7 separate regions of the Homo sapiens genome follow, and regions 1, 2, 3, 4, 6 and 7 are each linked to region 5. Evidence: promoter capture Hi-C in human tissues and cell types (Jung and others, 2019). All regions are on one chromosome and are shown on one strand. Each heading gives the region's core, a stretch centred on a gene start or on the middle of the fragment in contact. The rest is flanking DNA. Distances are from core to core; before and after follow the strand shown. Region 1 overlaps LRRIQ1 (leucine rich repeats and IQ motif containing 1). Region 2 overlaps LINC02820 (long intergenic non-protein coding RNA 2820). Region 3 overlaps LRRIQ1 (leucine rich repeats and IQ motif containing 1). Region 4 overlaps LINC02820 (long intergenic non-protein coding RNA 2820). Region 5 holds the start of ALX1 (ALX homeobox 1). Region 6 overlaps LRRIQ1 (leucine rich repeats and IQ motif containing 1). Region 7 overlaps LRRIQ1 (leucine rich repeats and IQ motif containing 1).

Region 1 (3,000 bases), core at 68-2,567, 170 kb before region 5:
TGGAAAATAATAATAGCTGTATTAATTTAACTTCCTTATCTGTTCTTTCCATCATCTCTATCATTTGAAGGTCTACTTGTATTGAATTTTTTTTCACTGATTCTGGATCATATTTCTCTGCTTCATTGCATGCCTGGTCAGTATTGGTTGTATTCTGGACATTTTGAATTTTATATTCCCAATGCTTAATTTCATTGTATTACTTTAAATAGCCTCTATTTTATGTTTGGTGTGCAGTGGCTAAGTTACTTGGCACTAATGCGATACTTTCTAAGCTTGCTTTTAAGTTCTGTTAGAATGGTCCAAAGAAATCGTTGGAGTAATGCTAATTTAGCCCTACTACTATGATGACAATTTTCTGAGTATTTTTTCCAGATGTCTCATATAGAGACAGGCTGGTCTCGAACTCCTGGGCTCAAGAAATCCTCCCACCTCAGTCTCCCAAAGTGCTGGGATAACAGATGTGAGCCACTGTGCCCGGTCTTCTATGTATTCTTTTAACTTTGCCTGTGGGAACTAATCTCCTATGTCAGTTCCTATAGTTCTGCCTTCAGTTTCTACTGGTCCTTTCCCCTGAATTTAGATGGCTTTTTCTTACACATCAACAGAAGATTACTGATTTGCCAAGTTTAAGTGAATTACCTCCCAGAATACTGAGAGAATTTGCATATGTCCACTGTGAAATTTTCCACTGTGGAATTGGTGATCATTCTGGCTTACACTTTTGTCTTTTTTTATGCTCAGAACATTCACTTTTGAGATGGTTTCACATTATTTATTGTACATTTGACATTTTTATACTGTCATTTCACTGGTACATCAAGGCAGGATAAGCCAAGCATAAACAAGGCTACAATTTAGGAAAATGAGTTTGCCAATACAAACATGCTAAGTATAGGGGAAGGCACACATTTACTAAAATACATATTAGGTAGCAAAATATGTATTAGGACCATTAGAGTTTAAATCAAATCAGGAAAACTTGTCAATTTGTTCAGGCAGTTAAAATACATTTATGAACAAAACACAAACTAAAAAAAAAATAGCTATAACACCTGATCCTAGGGCAGAAGCTGTTGAATTTTTGCCCTGATTTGGTTTCTCTGCAAGGTGTGGCCATGTCCAGGAAGATCCTGGATCTGACAATTTCAGAGGAGTATAAGATATATTACAGAAGAATTAAATGTCTGGTTATGTTTAAAATTCCCATATCTGACTTAATGTACCTGTAGAACAAGCTATTAGAGTCTGGGGAATAGTCTGTCTTCCCACTCTTGTCTGAGGCTACTGCAAACCTCTGACATTCTTTCTAGGTTAATTTGTTTCCTGGATTTGTTACTTGGTCTTTGGTTAAGAAGGTAGAAGCATTTTTACACTAACTCAAACACCTATGTAATTTACTGCATATTGGTAACTTGTATATCTTAGAAGAGTTATTATCTTGGCCCAGAAAGTCCATTTTTCTTTCTTTTTTCTTTAGAGCCAGGTTTCCAAAAAAGTTTCTAATAGTACAATGTTATTTAGGGAAATCTGGCATGTTTCCACGTTTTAGAAAAAAATTTGTCAACTTCCAGTTTAGAAATGTCTTTTCCAAGTGTACGTTAAGCTGTGCAGCACAGATGAAAGAGTATGACCTAGTACAGTGGTTCTCAAAGGTGTGTCTCTTGACCAGCATCAGTCATCATCACCTGGAAACCCAGCAGAAATGCAGTATTTTTGACACCATCCAAGCCTACTGAATCAGAAACCTAGGAATGGTGTTCAGTAATCTGTACTTTAAGAAGCCCTTTTGATGATTCTGATATATACTAAAGTTTGAAAACCACCATTTTAAAACAAGGATATTCTACCCCTACCCCATACTGTGTGATCCTGGACAAGTAACTTAATTTTCTTTTTTAGATATGTGGTCTTTCTATGTTGCCCAGGATGGCCTTGAACTCCTGGACTTAAGCATTTCCTTTACCAAAGCCTCCTGAGTAGCTGGGACAAGAGGTGTATGCCACCATGTCCAGCTCTAACTTAACTTTTTTATGTCTCTGAATCCCCAGTAGTAAAATGAGGATGATAGTCTCATGGGGTGGTTATGAGAACTGAATGGTATAATACGCATAATTTATTTAGAACAATTCTTAGAACGTGGTAAGATAATGAAAATTTACTATTTCCCATTACCATGTTAACCAGATTATATATGGGATCTTATTTAATCACCAAGTATTTTATGAACTCCTCCTGTATGCAGTGTCCTCAGTGTCCTAACATGTTGGACATTATGAAGGAGATTTAATGTAACCCATAATTTTAAGACATTTTTCTAATCATACTGGGGAGATAAAATGTAGGCACAGAATTGATAACCATGAAAAATAATAATGATCAAAACCACTAATACAACATTCACTCTGTGCTCAACACTGTTCTCATTTAATCTATACAATATGCCTAATAATTATGTATGTAACCCAGCCTCCCATTTTATAGTTGAGGAAACTGAGTCCCATAAAGGCTAAATAACTTGACCAAGGTTACATAGCTATCAAGTAGAGGAGCCAGGAAATCTAACTCATGCAGTCTGGCTGCAAAATCTACGCTTGTAACTCTTAGAGTTTTTGTGTCTAATAAAACACTAGTGTCAAATGATTATTGTAGGCAACATATAAGCTTTAAAAATTTAGAAAAATCATCTCAGTTTAGTGTGACAAGGAGAAACGGCCTTGGCTAAAGGGGCACACTTTTAGTTAAACCTCAGAAGTTTGCTAAGATTTAAAATCATAAAGAACTAATAAAAGCAATTCTGGGGGAGGAATATCCAAGAAAAGTAAGGAAGGTCAGATGTAGCTAGACTCTGTTTGAAGCTAGTCTATTCAGATGTAAAATGGGTATACTGGGAAATACCATTGGAAGGAGATGAGAAATCAAGTACTTACAGTGGTCAGAGAATAGACGAAGTACTCTCTCTATATATTACTTTATTTCACAGCACCCCTGTAAGTTGGG
Region 2 (3,240 bases), core at 143-2,642, 140 kb after region 5:
GATTCCACTGAATGTGTTTGGAAACAACTTTCCCTGAAACTAAGGGGATTTTTATCCATTCAGAAACTAAAGCAGTAGACCCTTGCACAGTAAATTCATTGTAGGCTTTCTTTATGGGTGGTGGGGGAATCTCTAAAGGTCAGGAGTCCAGATTGCTTCAAATAAACATCCAGAATCTCAGATGCTTTTTTGAAACAAGCCCAAGTTTATCTGAACCTCTTTCTCTGGTTTGGAAATCAGGCTGAAAATGTCACAGAAACAGATTTTCTTGTGAGATCTCAGAATGTTGTGGTTTAAGTAAAGTAATAAACAAAGTTGAAAAATGAAAGGCAAAATTGGCTCAAACTCACCTGGTTTCATTCTGTTAGATGCCTAAAACTGAGTGGCACTGTGCAATCTTTAAAACAGAAAAAATAAAAACAAAACAAAAACAGAGTTTGGCTGTGGGTTAGCCTAAAATCATCAAACATTTCTCCTGAGGAGGTTTAAGAGAAACTTTTGCCACTCCATCATGCGCTGTCCTTATGTTGCAATGTTTCATTTATCCCCCTCTCCATCTTCAATTTGAGAGATTTCAGAACTGGTCTTCCGTTTTTAAACTGTCAATAAGGAATAACTCTTTGACCTTTTGAAGTGGAATACGTTCCTTTTTATTTATGGGTGTGATTGCCTTGAAATGCATATTTTAGTATTTATGTGGTATATATATAAAACAATAAAAAATAAAGTAGAATTTTTTCGAATAGCTATTATTGAATACCAGGGATGAGTTAAAACTTCTCCACATATCATATTATTTAATCCTCACAGCAAAACCATTAAGCAGGTATTTTTTATCTCCATTTAATAAATGATATAAAAACAGTTTATGAAGATACAGTAACATTCTTAATTGTACAGCTGTGATACTTATAGCAAGTAAGTAGAGGCAGGATTGAAGCTGAGGATGGCTGACTTCAAAGACCGTACATTTTACTACTAATTTATGTAGTTTCCCAAGAGCTGTTTTTAAAATCCATTTAATATGTCTAATAGCTTTAGCCCTACCTATTACAAATAATGGGTTACATATCTAACACACTAGCTGAAAAGTTCGTTTCTGAAAAAGTCTCTTTTCTGTGTCATGTGGTCAAAGAGTTTTATATGAGTAATGGATATGGTCTTGTAGACTTTTGGATAAATCCTTAAGGAAAAAGCCAACTGTGTATTTTCAATACACTGAAAAGCAGTGTATTAGATATATAGCTGAAATTATTATAATGATAATGCCTTAGATTTATAAGCACTCTACAGAATCCAAATCCTTTTGTATTTGTTTTCTCATTCTAATCCTTCCAACAAACTAGAAAGTAGGCAAATAAGGCATCTGGATCCACGACTGGGGAAAACTGAGGCTTCATGAAATTAAGAGATTTTTCCAAAGTCATGAAACGAAAATAAATCCAGAAGAAACGGCAAATGGAATGTTTTACCTATGTAAATTGCTCTTTGCAAATCAACACTTCAAAATTCCACTCTGCGGTCACCTTTTAATATCTTATGTTATTTTCTCAGTCGCTTCTTTTCAATTACGCTCACTTTTCTCCACAGTACTTTTGCATATTTCAGCTTTTTATATATACTGTGCTCCTGTTAGAAAGTGTTCTGCACTAACTGATAAAATCCAAACTACTTTTGCAAAGCCTGAAAAGGTCTAGACACATGATACCAATGCTATTCTTGGGCTACCCATTTAAGTTATGTATCAAGTCTAAATTTAATCAAGGCCACATTTTATTTATACATTTCATGCATTAAACTCATTTAAACTTTTAGTCAGATTTCATTAGAAGAAATACTACCGTGTACATCATGCAGTAGTAAAGCTAATGTGCTTCAAGAATTTGAAAGGAGTTGGAGATCGGGGGTCTGATTTCAAAATTTCTTTTTCTTTCTCTCCTTAGTGCTTGCAGCAGGTCTGTGAGCAGCACACAGTTTGTTTCCTAGGACACTAATACAGTCAGCATGCTCTGTACAAATGTGTAAACACAGACATTCCCTGTAATCAGGGAGGTTGGTGTCTTAAGGCAAGATTATGTTTTTTTAGGAAATGCAATTTATGTTCAGGATTAAATTTCTCTTGCAGACTGATAACGTCTGAGGTTCAGGGAGATGATAATAAGTGTTGTGTCCTAAACTGCCTGCCCTGAATCTGAAGCCTTGAATTAGTCTTCCTGTATAGCCCTCATTCTTATGACCCCAAATTAGGTAGTTCTTCATGTCTTAGAAAGATGAGAGAAGTAAATAATATAAAAAGACAAAATACACTTTAAAAAATGTAAAGCATCTATAAACCTCATGGTGGTTACAAGGAAATACAGAGACATAAGGAAAAAATACAGATGACACCATGGCTAATATCCTTCTTCACAATTCAGGAAATTTAAATTTGTGTCTGGTACTTTGGTATTCGTGAAATTGAGATGGAGATGGGCAGAAAGTTAGACAATATTCTTATAATCGCTTTAGTCTTCTCATGGAATGATCCTAACACTATAAAACAACTTAAACACATAACAAATATTCTCTTTCTAAACAGTAGTTGAAATAAATCCAACCAGAATACCAAGAAAACCTTCTCTATAAATCCTTTCATCACAAAACTGCTCTATTTCTTTTCCAAACCAGAAAAAAAAGTTTTCAGAAGTTAAAAGGGCAGTTTTTATGCCAAAACCACAATTTTTTTGACCTAATATTAAATTCTTAAGATTTTTTCCTTTCTTTCTTTCTTTCTTTTTCTCTTTCTTTCTTTTTCTTTCTTCTTTTCTTTTCTTTCTTTCCTTCTTTCCTTCTTTCTTTTTCTTTATTTTTTTCTTTTTTCTCTTTTTCTTGCTTTCTTTCTTCTCTCATCTTCCTCCTCTTCCTGTCATTGTCTTCCTTCTCCTTCTTTTCTTTATTTTTCTTTTTCTTTTAACCTTCAGAGGCAGAGATCTGTGGTTACTACCAACTCCTTTTTACACAGGGAGTGCAGATCATACAAAAGAAAAACATAGCCTTGATCAGACAGCTGAGTTTTTTTTAATCTTAAAAAAAATCTATTTTATCCAAATGAATTGAGTACTCAGAACTGGAACTTTTCAGACCACAAGGAAGACTGACATGCTTTTTTATCATGGTAACAGGTACTGACTGCATGGGGAGAGGCCATACCACAGAAACCTCAATCTGCCTGAGCCGTGACTCTGAGAGCTGGAGTACCAC
Region 3 (3,397 bases), core at 885-3,384, 230 kb before region 5:
TTTATCCCCTTGAAATCTCATGGAATCACCAGTGTTGGAGGTGGGGCCTAGTGGGAAGTATTTGTGTCATGGAGGTGGATCCCTCATGAATAGCTTGGTGCTCTCCCCATAGTAATGACTGAGTATTTGCTCCGTTAGTTGCCACAAGATCTGACTGTTAAAAGGAGCCTAGCACTTTCTCCTCTCTCTCTCTCTCTCTCTCTCGCTCCCTCTCTTGCCATGTGACTCACTGGCTTCATTTCTCTTCCACCGTGAGTAAAAGCATCCTCAGGCCTCACCAGAACCAGATGCTGGCACCGTTCTTCCTGTACAGCCAGCAAAATCGTGAATTAAATAAACCTCTTTTCTTTATGAATTATCTAGCCTCAGGTGTTCCTTTACAGCAACACACTAATATAATTTGCTCACTGATCTCATTGTCTCCTTGGTTCTCTTTTAATTTTATCTAATGTAAACTGATGATTTTCATAAAAACAGTGATGTAATTATTTTCCTAGCTCAAAATGCTTAATAAGTGCCAAAAATGTTTCTCTTCTTGAAAACCTAGTGATTTCAAATACAGTCTTTTGCATAAAACCTTTCATGATCTAATTATCATGCCCATTATTATTTTTTATATTTTTCTCTTGCAATAAACTTATTCTGCTAGATTTTGGGTAATGTGTAAATTTATGATAGTGTCTTCACATTATCAGAAGAGTTTTTGAAGAAGGGGGTTGTATTTTACTGATCTGTTTATTCTGAGGAGTCTTATCGAATGTGTTGATAAAAACTTATTGAAAGAAAACCATCACTTACTGAACTGATTTATGTGAATTAAATGGTATGACATGGTGAGAAAACAATTGTAACACAAAACCCATTTTACAAACATTATTGTAATTTTTACAATGCCTAACAGTGTTTCGAGCCAATACATTATATTCTGTGAATAAACATACTCAAATAAATACAACTTTCCTAGGTTGCAAACTTCTTTATGTTCTCAGAATGGAAACCCTAGGTATTATGTGACACTTCAGTTTGAGATTAAAGTTGTTATCCCAGTACTAAAAATTGAAAGCCATTGGTTGGGTTGTCAGCTTTAACTATTGTTTACAAATATATGTTATGAGAATCATATATAATTAACATAATATTTTTGATATTTGAGTATAGTCATATTTATTATTATCATATGTTCAGCAAGAACAGGACAAGATGAATGATGAACTCTATAAAGAAGAGAAAATTTGGAAAGAGAAATTTAAACAGCATGAGGTATCTATTTGTTGTTTTTATTTAGCACATTAAGCTTTCTTTATTTGAAATACATTACTATGCTTGAAATGGTTATTTTTAGATAATGCTGCCTAAGTAGTATAAGATTTTAGTTTATTACAGCATTAAAAATTTATTAATCCTCAGAAACACTCCTTGAAATAGAATGTCTTAAAAATGAGAGTTAGCTGGTTTGGTGAGTGTTGTCCGTATAAAATTGTAATTCTAACATTTCTTTTAAGGTTTGATGAAATGTACCATTTTGAATATTTCTTTATGTTCAAAGATTGTTATGAAAGCTTACTCTTTTTCCTAAACACAATTAAATTTGTTTTGAATATAAGATTATTCTGATGATACATATACTGATGTTTTAGTTTTTATTTACTCTAGAGTTTTCATATACAATTATTTTAAGTAATTACAAATTTAAAGTAGATATCTCCATAATCCTGTTATTTAGCTAAACATTATCCTTTTTTGTATTCCTTTCAAATCTTTTTAAAATTTATATAAACCCGCTCCTGCAAAAGTAGGTGTCTACTACACATTGTCAAATTAAAAAGCTGGTTAAGCATGTAAAGAGACAGAGTCATATGAATGACAAGTGACAAAAAAAGACAATAATAGCTCACCTATAGATAATCCAAATGGTAAGTATAGTAGAGCTGTTAAAATACCTATAATTATCATCCAGTAGCAAAATACTTAAACAGGTGATGTGAAAAGAAAAATAGCATCTATAATGAAGTACCAACTCTACATTCTAGAGTTTAAAAAATTCAGTATATAAAATTAAAATTTAGTGGGTGAATTTGATTGGACATAGCAGATGACACCATTAGTGAAATGAGACAGTTCAATAGAAAATATCCAAATTAAAGCACAGAGAAGAAAAAAAATTGCAAGAAGAGGAAAACAGCACAAGAAATATGTGACACATGGTGAAAAGATATAAAATTTGTATCATATCTTGAGAGGAGACAGAGAATGGGGCAGAAGCAAAGAGGTAAAGAGATAATGGTTAAAAAGATTTCAAATTGTTTTTAAAAAATCAACCAGCATATTCAAAGATGAAAAATAATTTCCAAGTAGGATAAATACAAAGAAAATGCTACCTTGGAATAAATAATACAATTATTGAAATTCAAAACAAAGGAAAAATAAAGTCTTAGAAGCATCTGGAGGATAAAAGACGCATTACCTAAAAAGGAGTAACAGTAAAACAAATAGCCATCTTTAAGTAAAATGATGGAAGAAAGAAGACGATTCAAAAAACGTAAGTATTCAATGATAATGGTTTCTTTGTTTATTAGTGTTCTTTGAATCCTGACTCTTCCTCCATTTTCTGGACTCAATTTTTAATTTCCTGTAGTATACACTTAAATAGTTGTCAAAAAACATTTTTGGATGCTAGATTTTCTCAATCTTTGTTTGCATATTTGAAAATATTTTGTTTTGTTTTTTGTTTTTTAAGATGGAGTCTCGCTCCGTCGCCCAGGCTGGAGTGCAGTGGCGCCATCTCGGCTCACTTCAAGCTCCGCCTCCTGGGTTCACGCCATTCTCCTGCCTCAGCCTCCCGAGTAGCTGGGACTACAGGCGCCCGCCACTGCGCCCAGCTAATTTTTTGTATTGTTAGTAGACACAAGGTTTCACCGTGTTACCCAGGATTGAAAATATTTTTAGTTTGCTTTTAAAAATGAATGGTCAGTTTCTTCGGGTGTGGAATACAGATTTATTACCACCCTTAACAATGTAAAGATATGACTTTGTTGCATATTTATTTTTGCCTGTGCTATCTATGATTGCAAATTTGATGCCTTTTCCTTACATTCTTTTGAAGCTTTAGGATTTTTCATTTTATACATTCATCCACACATATTTACTGGTTTTCTACTAGGTCAGGCACTTCTCTGAGTGTTTAAGATATGACAGTACATAAAATTGAAAATAATCCCTACTTTCAAATGCGATACACAATTTCCAAGGAGGAGAGATACAAAGAAAATCACACCTTGGAATTAAATAGTACTATTCAAATTCAAGACAAAGGAAAAATAGTGTTGGAAGCATCCAGAGGCAAAAAGACACACCACCTAAAAAGGAGCACAGTAAAACTAACAGCTTACATTCCCCA
Region 4 (2,915 bases), core at 136-2,635, 160 kb after region 5:
CCGCCATGCAAGGAAACACAGAAGGCACTGTCTATAAGAAACAGGCCCTCACCAGACACCAAATCTGCTGGCACCTTGATCTTGGATTTCCCATCTTCTAGAACTGTGAGCAATAAATTTCTGTAGTTATAAATTACACAGGGTAAGGTATTTTGTTATAGCAGTCTGAATAAACCAAGAAAATTTCATGTAACCATTGTGGGATCAGAGAAAAAGCAACCATAATCCAAGGGCTTCTATTTTAAATTCATGGCCAAAAACCACAAATGTTCAAATAATATTTAGAAAATGTTTAGTATCATGGCCCATCATAATAAAGCGACTATCCAACGAGCTGCATATTTTACAACTATACCTATGCAGATGAATGGGACTGAAACACACACCCACATTCACACAAACACACATTCATGAGATACATGTACTCAGACACACCAGGGCTGACTTTTTGCCTTTCCTTTACTGTAAATCTCAAATGTGTACTAAAACTGACAAATCATTCCATTATATTTTCTCGGAATATTTTCTTTCCCACTCATTCTCTCAGAGCATTATGACACACATTTTTCCCTCTGTACAAACCTCCAACAATCTCCTAATTTCCAGGTGATTATATTAACTCATATTTAACTGGAAAATAAAACAAGATTAATCTGACTCTAGGAGGACAAGACAACTATCCAGAGATTTGCAGTGCCACCTAATGGATAGTCCAGAGGGCTGATCTAGAGTTAAGGGAGAGAAGTTAGAGGAAAAAAAAGTTATTCCCAGATGATTTTGAGCTACTTAGTGAAATACTGGGAGGGTGAAGCTGGGCAACTATGTTTACATGCTCTTATAGATAAAAAACAACCAGATTTGAGTCACTGTTGGGTTTGAAGCTGTATATGACACTTGTAATAGTGTTAAATTCTCAATGTGACATGAGAAGAGTTTTTAATAAATCTAAATAGGTGGGCATATGTAGAGATAAAATAGACTTACCAGGCCAGGCACAGTGACTCACGCCTGTAATCCCAGCACTTTGTGAGGCCGAGGCGGGCAGATCACGAGGTCAGGAGATCGAGACCATCCTAGCAAACACGGTGGAACCCCGTCTCTACTAAAAATACAAAAACAAAATTAGCCGGGTGTGGTGGCGGCCGCCTGTAGTCCCAACTACTAGGGAGGCTGAGGCAGCAGAATGGTGCAGAATGGTGTGAACCTGGGAGGCGGAGCTTGCAGTGAGCTGAGATCGCACCTATGCCCTCCAGCCTGGCAGCCTCGGTGACAGAGCGAGCCTCCATCTCAAAAACAAAAACAAAAACAAAACAATAACAACAACAAAAAGCAGACTTACCAAAAGTTAATAAAAGAAAAACAGTTAATTTAATTAATGCGACCTTCCAGCCAAACTTACCTGAAGGGATAGAAAGTGAACATCCCTAGGCAGGGGAATGTTAAGTATTCTGGATCTCATTATTCCAGGAAGGGTGGAGCATAATTTACTAGTAGATGGGGGAGGAGATTGAGGTTGTTGTCCCAGAAACCATGATTTACCTGAGAATTTCCGATTCAGCTCTTGAGGTCCACTATTCTACCAATAGCTTTCAGGCAATAATATACACTACAGTACATATTCTGAGACCTGTTTGATCCAAAGTAAACCCTGGGAATCTTCCTGCATGAGACGGACCAGCATTCAGCCCATGGGTTGTTGATGCACAGGTCTTTAGCATTTTATTGCTGAAAGCCAATCATATTTTCATTCATTCATTCATTCAACACCTTTATTGAGTATTACTACTTTAAACGCAGGGAATATTTTAAGTGCAGTAAAAATTAGATATAACCACCTTCTCTCTTGAAACTGGTATTCTGATGGGAGAAGGCAAAAATTAGATTGAGTAAGTAAAATATAAATGTAATAGACCGGGCGCGGTGGCTCACGCCTGTAATCCCAGCACTTTGGGAGGCCGAGGCGGGCAGATCACGAGGACAGGAGATCGAGACCATGCTGGCTAACACGGTGAAACCCCATCTCTACTAAAAGTACAAACAATTAGCTGGGCGTGGTGGCAGGCACCTGTAGTCCCAGCTACTCGGGAGGCTGAGACAGGAGAATGGTGTGAACCCAGGAGGCGGAGCTTGCAGTGAGCCGAGATCGCGCTACTGCACTCCAGCCTGGGCGACAGTGCGAGACTCCGTCTCAAAAAAAAAAAAAAAAAAGTAATAGATAGCAATATATGCTATGAACAAAAATATAGAGGATAGGGGTTAGGTGTGCATGAATAGAGATTATAAATTTAAATAAGGTGGGTAGAAAGGCCTGAGATGTGGTATTTAATGAAAGAACTGAAGTTTGGGAAGTATAATGGAAGAAAAAAAAAGAGTAATGACTAGTTTAGCACACAGGTATCTAGGAGGTACCTAGGGAAAGTGTTCAGGCAGAAAGCACAAAACAGTTCAATACTTTAAGCAGGTTGGTTTCCTAAGTGTGCACCCTGTGCTGATGCACAAGATCTTGCACAAGACCCTTGCCATCTTGAAATTTTTTTAAATTTTTGAACAGTAAAACTTGCATTTTGCTTTTTGTACTGGGCCCCACGAATAATATATCCAATCTGGGCCTTAAGGCACATCAGGGGAATGGCAATGAAGTCCCCATGATTAGAGGGAAGTGAGATAGACAGAGTAGTAGATGTCAGGGATGGAGAGAGGTGACATATCTTGTTTGACCTTGAATTACCTGAATAAAGCTTTAACAGAATCCGTACAACTGCTACGTTGAAAATAGAATGAAAGGATCAAGAGTAGAAACAGAGTGATCAGTTTTAAGAGAACTATTTCAGTGAAATCTTAGCAAGACTTGCTGGTAGAAATAATATCTGGACCTAAATGTAAAATACTGTTGTATCGTCCTGTTTTTATTTAAA
Region 5 (2,982 bases), core at 153-2,652:
CCAGTGTTGACAAAGGCTGTGTCAGGACGTCTAAGCAGAGGCCTACCTGGACCAAAACCTGTCTGGCTTATTTTCACCAAATTTGCTAGCTTAGGGTGCCTGACGCAAATGCGATTTTGTGCCCAGGGCACCGAACGCATTTCCCCCAAGCGCCGCGGGCTCCTAGGAAGCCAAGAGTCGTGCCAAAAGTCACACAGAAGGGCTTTCAACCTAGCAGTGCTGTCCTGCCTGCCCTACCATCCCCTCTGGTGGAAATGGAGGCCTTGGACCTGTCCGCGCCCAGGACGCCGCGCCGCGAGTGCCCGCAGCTCCGCGCGCTCACCACTCACTCCCAGAGCGCTTTTCGGAGTAACTCCACAGCAACTCTTTAAAATTAAAAGTAATTTCTGTAAAAATATGCAGACATTCCTCTTCTTCATAAACCCCTATTTGTAACAATCCTCACTTTGGCATTAGAGTAAAAGCCTTTCAAAGGCACTGATCCTAACGGGTTTTCTTAAAATAATTTGGGTCTAATGATAAAATCGTGGACCAAAGGGAAGGGTGGCGAAGAGGGTGTAGGGAATTGGTTGGCATTAGTATAATGGCTTCATTGCCTCTTGCTCGGCTTCTCTCTCCCACCCATCGCCACCGCGTCCACACTCCGCCGCATTCCAGAGAAAAAGAAAAGGCCACGGCCTCGTAAAGCTCCCAGCTGGCCCGGACCCCGAGCTCCTCCCGGTTAGAAGCCGAAGCGGCCCCTCTACTACGGCGGCTGCGATTAACAGTTGCCAATGCATCTGGTTCCTTGGGCTTCGGATTAATGTGAATCTTCCACGTAAACGATTTACGGATGAAATAAAAGCCTTTTAGAGCAATATTTCCTTTCAAGTTCTTAAGACGCCTCTAAATCTTTCTGGTAGTGAGTGGCCGGCATGGGGGCGGGGTGGGGACGGGTGGCTCAGGAAGGCGCAGGCAGTAGGGAGTGGAGGTTTAACTGCTTTGCGATCTCACCAAGATCTTCCGAAATGCCAGTCCACTGTCACGGCGGCAATGAATCTGGGTGTCAGGGGCTCGTCTCTCCTGGCATTTGTCTGAAATGGAGCTGTCTGTCTGTCTATCCTAGGCCTGGACGCCCTCTGCCCGGGTAAGTGGGGAAAATGGGGGTGGGGTAGGGGCGGAGGGGGACCTGGGGTGGAGTTAGTCGCCCGCCTATTTTCATATTCATTAGAACTGGGAGGCTGCCCGAGGAGGCCAGCTGAGTTTCAAGATATAAAAGCAACTTCGGGTGCTCCTTTTCCAGCCGGGACGTATTAAAGGGACCGGAGCGGGGCAGTTCCCGACGCCGCAGCGCTCGCTTTCCCTTCCCTCCTCTCTGGCCCTCCCTCCTCCCACCCACTGGCTCCCTCCCCCAGCGCTCTCCAGTTTCTGTGCCCCAGGAGCTACGCGACAGTCTTCCAGGATTATGGAGTTTCTGAGCGAGAAGTTTGCCCTCAAGAGCCCTCCGAGTAAAAACAGTGACTTTTACATGGGCGCAGGAGGTCCTCTGGAGCACGTTATGGAGACGCTGGACAATGAGTCCTTTTACAGCAAAGCGTCTGCAGGCAAATGCGTGCAGGCCTTCGGACCCCTGCCCCGCGCCGAGCATCACGTGCGCTTGGAGAGGACCTCGCCCTGTCAGGACAGCAGCGGTGAGTCGCTAGCGCCCCAGCCGGAGCCGCCGCAGCCCTTCCGCAATCGAAAATGCAGGATCGGTCTGATCAGGCAGGGAGGGAGAAAGGAGAAAAGTGGGAGCGAGGGACCTGGAAGGTGGAGGAAGGTAGTGGAAGGTGCTCGCTTTATGAAGCGGTGTTACTGCTGCTGCAGCCTTTGGGGGCGGAGGGCGGAGGGAGGGAGAGATCCAGCACCGGGTTGCCTCTGAGCGATTCTCCTTTCGCTGTAGGGTCTGGTCGCCTACGGATCCCTGAGTCCTTCTGTAATATTGGTTCCTGGAGTAAACTGATAGGGCGCTAAATAGAGCGTAATTGAGTCAAGACAGAACGCTTCCTCTGCGAGCCCGCCTTGCAGTCCGGGCGGTAGGAACTGAAATCGATCACAGCTCGTTAGAGTACGTCACTGTCGTCACGAGTAGGGAAAAAAAAACCGGAAAACAAAAACAAAAAACAAAAAACCCTTTGAGCTCCTTTAGGTAAAGATAAATCTTTTTAATTTTCCAAGACGTGGCGATATATTTTCAAAGTTTGAGGATCCCTAGATTTCTAGCGTGTGTGAATTTGTAATTTCTGCTTTTTTTTGCGTTTGCAATACAACACGCGTTGAATGTTTGTTAAACACTAAAGCACACTAAATAGCTTCGGGCAAACCATCCCCGGCCTAATCACTCATTCCCAGATTCTACGTTTTGTATTTTTATGACTTCACATTAAAAGTCACCTAAGGAGTCTTTGGAATGCTTCTGGGTGAAATCTTCAACTTTGAATGCCCAAGTATCTCCAAGTCAAAATGTTATCAAAACAAACCATCTATCTTTTCTATCTTGTAACCTAATACTAACCTATTATTTCAGATCGCGACAGCTAAAGCACGTTTACAATTCCAAGAGAACTTCTCCTTATCATTGTATATATTCCACAGTTAAGCTATAAGGGGCGGGTTGCTTTAAAATAACAAACGAATTAAGTGTGAAATATTTACAACAAGCCCCCTGCCCCCTATTTTATAGAAATTCAAAATCTGACAAAACACTGGCCTGTAGAAGCTCATTTTCTAAATATTTTGAACACAAGTTTTTTTCTTTTATTAATCTCATATTTAACTAATTTTATTTAACGTTGCAAGTAACTTTTGACTAAGGGTAAATCAAAAATAAAGGTGCAAATGATAGAGAAAATAATCAGCTAAGTCGTTTCAGTCATTTATTTAGAAAGATTCGAGCGTATACTTTTTGTTATTCTTACACTGAGTTGTTGGTTTTCTGGCTGCGTTTCAGACCTGGTATCTGTA
Region 6 (3,370 bases), core at 774-3,273, 140 kb before region 5:
AACTACTGGTCAATATTGACTCTTTTAAAACCCATTCACATCTACCTCCTCATCACTAGATTATTTGAAATAAATTATTCCTTTCATAAATATTTTAGCATGAACTTCTATAATTCAAGCAATTATATTGCTTTGAATATAATTTCAGTACATTACCAACCTTAAAAATAACAATTATTTTTCACTATCACCAAATATCATATCAGTATTACAAATTCCTGTAGCATTTAATACGTCTTTGCAGATTTTTCTTAATCAAAATAAAAGTCATCACTCAAACTTTTATATGTTAAGTCTTTTATTATACAGCAACTCCCTTCTTTTTCTTGCAATTTATTTATTGAAGTAACCAGGTCATTTGTCCTATAGGGTTTTCCAATTTCTGAATTTTGCCAAATGCATCCTCATGACATCATTTAACATGTTTATCATCTCCTGGTTTTCTGTAAATTGATACTAAGATCTACTGTTTGTTCTGATTCAGGTTTTTTTTTTAGCAAGAATATTTCATAGGTGGTGGTTGTATTACAAAAATGAGATACATAGTATCTGGTTGCCTCTCTTTAAGGAATATTACTGGCCATTGGTAAACATTGCCTAGATCGATTATTGTATTAATGGTTTGCACAATGGTGATACTTTCTATCTACTATTCTTTATTAACTAAAGTATGTAAAAATACAAAAAAAATACTTTATTTAACTAGTTATCCTAAGGTACAGTTCAAATTAGAAAGGCAAGTTAAATGCTTGATATTAATAATTTTCCTTAATTTACCAATTTTTAGATTAATGAGGTCTCCTAGCATTCTCCAAAGGTCACCAAAATGGGTACTATGATAATAAACACAGATTTTAAATATATGTGTTTGATTTCATTGCAGTTAGTAGTCTCATCAAGTTCAATTTTTGCCACAATTTAGTAGTCTTTAAAATTGTCCTTGCTTTCTAATGTGACACAATGTTCCAGGTTCATTTGACATACATTTTGCCCCAGGCCTAGAATCAGTCATTTGTCTAAAGATCCTTGGTTTCTTTAATGGAAATGACATATAGAGCACCCCATCTGGATTTTAGAAATACTTGTTTCTACTGGTTTGGTCATTATTTATATAATGTACATTCAATGTACTTAGTTTGCAGATAGATATTTTTAGGAAAAAAAATATACCATGGGTACATATTGATGTTTTGAAATTATAGTTAGGACTATAGGATTTTTACTTATTTAATTGTATATTTGCATCTCTTTTCTTCTATAGAAAATCTTGTTTTTTACTGACATTATCATAATTGCTTTCTTTACTCCTCTCCCTCACTCCTCCAACCTGCGTGTACTTGTGTATGTGTATGTGGGTGTGCACACACATACGTATACAGTGGAAATAAAGACCACACAAATGAGAAAAAAATGGGCTACTCAGAGTATATGCTAATGAAGGAGTCAGCCATCATCACTTGCCTTTGGCATAGACCCCAAAACGTGGAAGGGAGTGGGAAAGTTTTTAGTGGAAAAAGGGAACGCTTCAGGTATGCTCTATTGGAGGTTGTTGGCATGGGGAAAGTGGGTAGGGAGAGACTAGAAGTAGAACATATTATGTGATTGGTTTGGGAAGCATATTTGGCTTTCTCTGGTTGTTCCTGAGTTAGAAGCAGAGTTAAAAACAAGGAAGCTGGGTCATTGATCAAGTTTTGACCATTCTTGGCTAATTGCTGCAGAGGTTGTCACTTAGCATTCTGGGTTATTTGCTTCAGAGATTATGGTTTGGCTTCCTAGGCTGGCTGTTAACAAAGGTTGTGGGTGACTGCTATTGTCATAGAGGGTTTCACCATTTTGTATATTTCACTTTGCTCTCTCTCTCTTTCTGTATATATATATATTTCAGAATGAAAATACCAATCTCATTACTAACAATATGATTACTGAAAACCATTTTAAAATCTCTTTTGTGGCCAAATTTGTCTTTTGAGTATATTTCACCTGGGGGTAGCCAAATAAATCTATTTTAAGTCACTTTAAATAACTTGTATGGTTATTCCACAGCATGAAACATTTTTTATATTTTAGGCATTTCTTTCTGTTTCATATTTACTTAATTTGTTTCACAGTTCTCTTAAGCATGTGCATAGTTTGAAAGTCAAATCCAAGCAAGATGTATTTAGAGAAGTCTGGCTTCTATTGCTATACATTCTACCCTGTTTTATGCCTTTATAGGTAACCATTTTTAAAATTAATTTTATAATTCGAGCTTTTTAAAATTTATATATATACATATATACTTCAAAATATGTGTTAATGTAATGTATATATTTATACACAGTTTTTCATAGCTAAACAGTAACATAAAAAACACTTATTTCTCCCTTGGTTTTTACACAGTATATTCTGAAGCTCATTCCACATGAGCATAAATATATTCTTTATATTTATAAATATAAAGATATCCATTTTTTACAAGCTACATTGTACTTGGAGTTATAGTTAGGAAAGCTCATCCTACTCCAGGATTACTGAGGAATCTGAATATTTTAAATTTTGTTATTTTATGCTTAATTTATTTAAAAATGAAATTAATTCATCATTATAGGCCATAATACTCCCTGTATAATATGGCCATTTATATATGTTGATGTTTTCTTAATTGTGCTTTATTTTATACATAATCATTTGAACATTAGCAAAATGGGTTTTGCTTTGTATCTCTTTCTTCTTAGTTTAGAATGGGTCCTGGAGGAATTGTAACATAATTGATTGGTTGACCTACATGTGCAGTTGAGGGAGTTTTAAAGATTCTTTTTTGCTTACTACAAGGAAAGTCTCCTGAGATTCAGAACTTTAGACACATGTCGTCGTTTAATTTATCTTTCAGTTTTAAGTGTCACATAAAGTTCAGAAAACAGATTATTGTGTCATTAAACTTAGGTCTAAGATGTTTTATCTTCCTAATGGGATAACACAGATAATCTGGTTTAGGGTTTGATCTATAACTTTGTATAACATACTTTACATTTTTGTTTAGGCAGTTTGGAAGGGCTTTATTTTGCGAAAGAAACTGACAACAGCTCTAGAGGCTATTAAGAATGAAGAATCCGATGAAGAATACAGAGAAATAGATTTAGAGGATTTTATATTTGATGAAGTAAGTACGAACTATAGTATATAAATATTGGTCTTAAAATACATTAAGTGTACTATTTTGAAGATAAACCAGTTTCTAAGGTGTTTATCCTATTAATATTGTTACAGACTTTTTTCCTAACATTGAGAAACTTTTCCTAACATCATCTTCTTTTATCCTACAAGCTTGTATAGTGTGCAAAGGTGGCAGCAAAATACTTACAAGAGCGTCTTTGTGCCCTTCAACCATGTT
Region 7 (3,367 bases), core at 775-3,274, 190 kb before region 5:
GGAGGTGTTTGACTTATGGGGTGGATCCCTGATAGCTTGATGCTGTCTTTTCAATAGTGAGTTCTCATGAGATCTGGTGGTTTAAAAGTGTGTGGCATCTGCCCCCTCTCTCTCACTTGCTTCTTTTTTTTACCTTGTGACATGTCTGCTCCCTAATTGCCTTTTACGATGATTGTAAGCTTCCTAAGGTCTCTCTAGAAGCTGAGAAGATGCCAGCACCATACTTTCTGTAAAGCCTGTAGAACCAGGAGCCAGTTAAACCTCTTTTATTTATAAATTGTCCAGTCTCGGTTATTTATTTATAGCAATGCAAGAATGGCCTAATACAGTCTTCCTTTGAGAAGTGTCTGTTTATGTCCTTTGCGCGTGTTTTAATGTGGTTGTTTTTTGTTTGTTGAATTGTTTAAAAATTCCTTATAGATTCTGTATTTTAGACCTTTGTCAGATGTATAGTTTGGGAATATTTTCTCCTATTCTATAGGTTGTCTGTTTACTCTGTTGATAGTTTCTTTTGCTTTACAGAAGCTCTTTAGTTTAATTAGGTCCCACTTGTCAATTTTTGTTGTTGTTGTTGTTGCAATTGCTTTTGGGGACTTAGTCATAAATTTTTTGACAAGGCTGATATCCAGCATGGTGGTCCCTAGGTTTTCTCCTGGATTTTTATAGTTTTAGATGCTACATTTAGATCTAATCCATCTTGAGTTAGTTTTTGTATATGGTGAAAAGTAAAGGTCCGGTTTTATTCTGGATGTGGATAGCCAGTTATCCCAGCACCATTTATTGAATAGGGAGCCCTTTCCACATTGCTTGCTTCTTAAAAAATTTGTTAAATATTAGATAATTGTACGTGTATGGCTTTATTTCTGAGTTCTGTATCCCAGGGGTTCCCATCTTCCAGGTTATGGACCAGTAGCGGTCCATGGCCTGTTAGAATCCAGGCCTCACAGCAGAAGATGAGTGGTAGGCAAGTGAGTGAATCTTTGTCTGTATTTACAATGGCTCACTGCTGTTTGCATTACTGCCTGAGCTCCACCACCTGTCAGTTCATCAGCAGCATTAGATTCTCATAGGAGCGTGAATCCTATTGTGAACTGAGCATGCAAGGGATCTAGGTTGCACACTCCTTACGATAATCTGGGGAGTAGCTGCAAATACAGATTAACATTTGCAGAGAGTTTTGACTGCACAGAGATCATAACAAATCAGTTGCTTACAGAATCATATAAAAACCCCATCAGTGAGTGGCAAGTAACAATCAAACTGCATTTGGTGGCAGGCTTTATGGTGTCAAGAGAGTTGATGTACTTCAATTATACAGCTGCAACTTATGGCAGATTTTTAGTCAGAATCCAACACTTATTTTAGTCTGTGTGTGGCCCACTCATTATTTTATTTATCATTTCCATCCACACCTCTTTCCTGCACTGTGCACTTGCCTCAGTCACAGTTTTTGTAAGCCCACAAGATAACCTCAGCCAAAATGAGTAAAAGCCAAACATCACCGGAGAGTTTATTTGAAAACCGTGAAAGACTCTTCAAATGATGAGACATCAGAAGACTCTGTAAGACTGCCAACAAAAGGAAAGTTGCATCTAAAAGAAAATATCAAGATTTCCACTTAAATCACGAGTTCATTGCAACAAATGATTCACATTCTCCAAGTCCATTTTGTATAATATTTGGCATCTGGCTATACAATGAACCCATGAAACCTTCAAAACTTCTTTGTCACATGGAGACCAAGCACCCTGCACTAACCTTTGGTGTTTGTCAAAAGGAAAAACATGTAGAACAGAAGCAGTTATTGAAGGCCACCACTTTATCAAACGTGCCTGCGCCGACGGCATCATTCTTAGAGACTAACCACATCGCTAAAGCAAAGAAGTCCTTTGCTATTGATGAAGAGTTAATCCTGCCTGCTGCTAATGACATTTGTCATGAAGTTTTAAGAGAGGCTGCAGTTTAAAAGATGACACATGTTCCTCTTTTGGCTAGCACCATAACCAGACAATTAGATGAAATAGCAGAGGATACTGAGAAGTAATTGTTGGAGAGGATTAATGAGTCACCATGGTACACAATCCAGGTTGATGAGTCTACTAATGTTGACAACAAGGTAACAATACTTGTCTTTATGCGATATATTTTTCAGGAGGGTGTGCATGAGGATATGTTATGTACACTTTTGTTGTCAACCAACACAACAGCTGCAGAACTATTCAAGTATTTGAATAATTACATCTCAGGAGAATGGAATTGATCATTTTGTGTCAGTATATGCACAAATGGAGCAGCTACCATGACTGGACAGCTTTCTGGTTTCACTACTCAGGTCAAAGAGGTTGCTTCTGAATGGAAGTTATGCATGGTGGCATCCTTAAAGAAATGCTGGCTAGCTCAAAAATGTCACTTGAAATTAATGTTTTGCAGGATATGACTAAAATTGTCAACCACATTAAAGTGCATGCCCTTAACTCACATCTGTTTGCACACGTACGTGAGAAGATGGATGCAGAGCATGCATGTCTTCTCTTATACAGAGAAGTGAGATGGCTTTCTAAAGGTAGATCACTGGCCAGAGTTTTTGAGCTATAAGAGCCACTCCAAAGATTTATTTTAGAAAACACCCACCACTGGCAGCACATTTCAGTAACACAAAAAGTGTCCTCACATTTGCTTACTTCTATGACATATGACACCTCAACAAACTCAACCTGTCACTTCAGAAGAGAACAATAATTGTGTTCAAGTCGGCAGATAAAGTGACTGCATTCAAAGCCAAACTGGAATTTTGGATGCAACAAGTGAACACAGAGATTTTTTATATGATTCAGACAGTAGCAGAGATTTTTGAAAGAGACTGAGCCAAGGCCTCCTTTCTCCGAGCTGCTGCATCATTGCCTATCTCAGCTTTCAAAAGAGTTTGAGCATTATTTCCCAACCACAAAAGACCCCTGAACTGAGAAGGAATGGATCTGTGACCATTTGTGAATAAGCCAGGTGAATTGACTTTGGCCAGGCTAGAAGAGGATCAACTGCTTGAGACTGCAAATGATGGTGGCCTTAAAAGTACATTTGAGACAACTTCAAATCTCCATACATTCTGAATTAAAGTCAAAGCTAGATATCCTGAGTTTGCCAGAAAAGCGCTGGAAAGCCTGCTTCAATTTGCAGCATTTAATCTTTGTGAAACAGGGCTTTCTGGAGAGATAGCAACCAAAATGAGATTACTTTGTAGACTGGACATAAGCAACACACTTTGCATGTCACTGTCTTCCATCACCAACAAATGGGGCCATCTATTTGCAGGAAAGCAAGCTCAGGGCTCCCACTGATTCTACTTTGTGGTGAGTTGTATAATTATTTT

The links. Contacts are between HindIII fragments. The study calls those that stand out against the background at their distance.
Region 1: a contact is called between a fragment that was not itself captured here and the fragment with the promoter of ALX1 in region 5, in 3 of the 25 tissues and cell types used here (H1 embryonic stem cells, lymphoblastoid cells and mesendoderm cells).
Region 2: a fragment that was not itself captured here is called in contact with the fragment with the promoter of ALX1 in region 5 in 4 of the 25 tissues and cell types used here (H1 embryonic stem cells, liver, mesendoderm cells and 1 more).
Region 3: a contact is called between a fragment that was not itself captured here and the fragment with the promoter of ALX1 in region 5, in 3 of the 25 tissues and cell types used here (H1 embryonic stem cells, mesendoderm cells and thymus).
Region 4: a fragment that was not itself captured here is called in contact with the fragment with the promoter of ALX1 in region 5 in 2 of the 25 tissues and cell types used here (mesendoderm cells and neural progenitor cells).
Region 6: a fragment that was not itself captured here is called in contact with the fragment with the promoter of ALX1 in region 5 in 3 of the 25 tissues and cell types used here (H1 embryonic stem cells, mesendoderm cells and neural progenitor cells).
Region 7: a fragment that was not itself captured here is called in contact with the fragment with the promoter of ALX1 in region 5 in 2 of the 25 tissues and cell types used here (adrenal gland and neural progenitor cells).

Annotation. Positions count from the first base shown.
Region 1 is chr12:85,107,945-85,110,944 of GRCh38, forward strand. The region is part of intron 15 of LRRIQ1 (leucine rich repeats and IQ motif containing 1); the gene reads left to right. Among named protein-coding and RNA genes, the nearest start is that of LRRIQ1, 73 kb to the left of the region's middle. The HindIII fragment of the contact is 4,998 bases long and covers 1-3,000 here.
Region 2 is chr12:85,420,957-85,424,196 of GRCh38, forward strand. It overlaps LINC02820 (long intergenic non-protein coding RNA 2820), which reads left to right. Exons shown (of 5, transcript NR_183554.1): 4 at 3,162-3,240. Among named protein-coding and RNA genes, the nearest start is that of LINC02820, 100 kb to the left of the region's middle. The HindIII fragment of the contact is 5,156 bases long and covers 1-3,240 here.
Region 3 is chr12:85,050,992-85,054,388 of GRCh38, forward strand. It overlaps LRRIQ1 (leucine rich repeats and IQ motif containing 1), which reads left to right. Exons shown (of 27, transcript NM_001079910.2): 7 at 1,186-1,260. Among named protein-coding and RNA genes, the nearest start is that of LRRIQ1, 16 kb to the left of the region's middle. The HindIII fragment of the contact is 5,235 bases long and covers 1-3,397 here.
Region 4 is chr12:85,441,251-85,444,165 of GRCh38, forward strand. The region is part of intron 4 of LINC02820 (long intergenic non-protein coding RNA 2820); the gene reads left to right. Among named protein-coding and RNA genes, the nearest start is that of LINC02820, 120 kb to the left of the region's middle. The HindIII fragment of the contact is 3,723 bases long and covers 1-2,915 here.
Region 5 is chr12:85,278,818-85,281,799 of GRCh38, forward strand. It overlaps ALX1 (ALX homeobox 1), which reads left to right and starts at 1,403. Exons shown (of 4, transcript NM_006982.3): 1 at 1,403-1,670. The coding sequence starts at 1,445. RefSeq lists a silencer at 1,494-1,788. The HindIII fragment of the contact is 12,363 bases long and covers 1-2,982 here.
Region 6 is chr12:85,134,831-85,138,200 of GRCh38, forward strand. LRRIQ1 (leucine rich repeats and IQ motif containing 1) reads left to right here. Exons shown (of 27, transcript NM_001079910.2): 19 at 3,020-3,139. Among named protein-coding and RNA genes, the nearest start is that of LRRIQ1, 100 kb to the left of the region's middle. The HindIII fragment of the contact is 5,109 bases long and covers 1-3,370 here.
Region 7 is chr12:85,090,963-85,094,329 of GRCh38, forward strand. All of the region lies in intron 11 of LRRIQ1 (leucine rich repeats and IQ motif containing 1), which reads left to right. Among named protein-coding and RNA genes, the nearest start is that of LRRIQ1, 56 kb to the left of the region's middle. The HindIII fragment of the contact is 5,012 bases long and covers 1-3,367 here.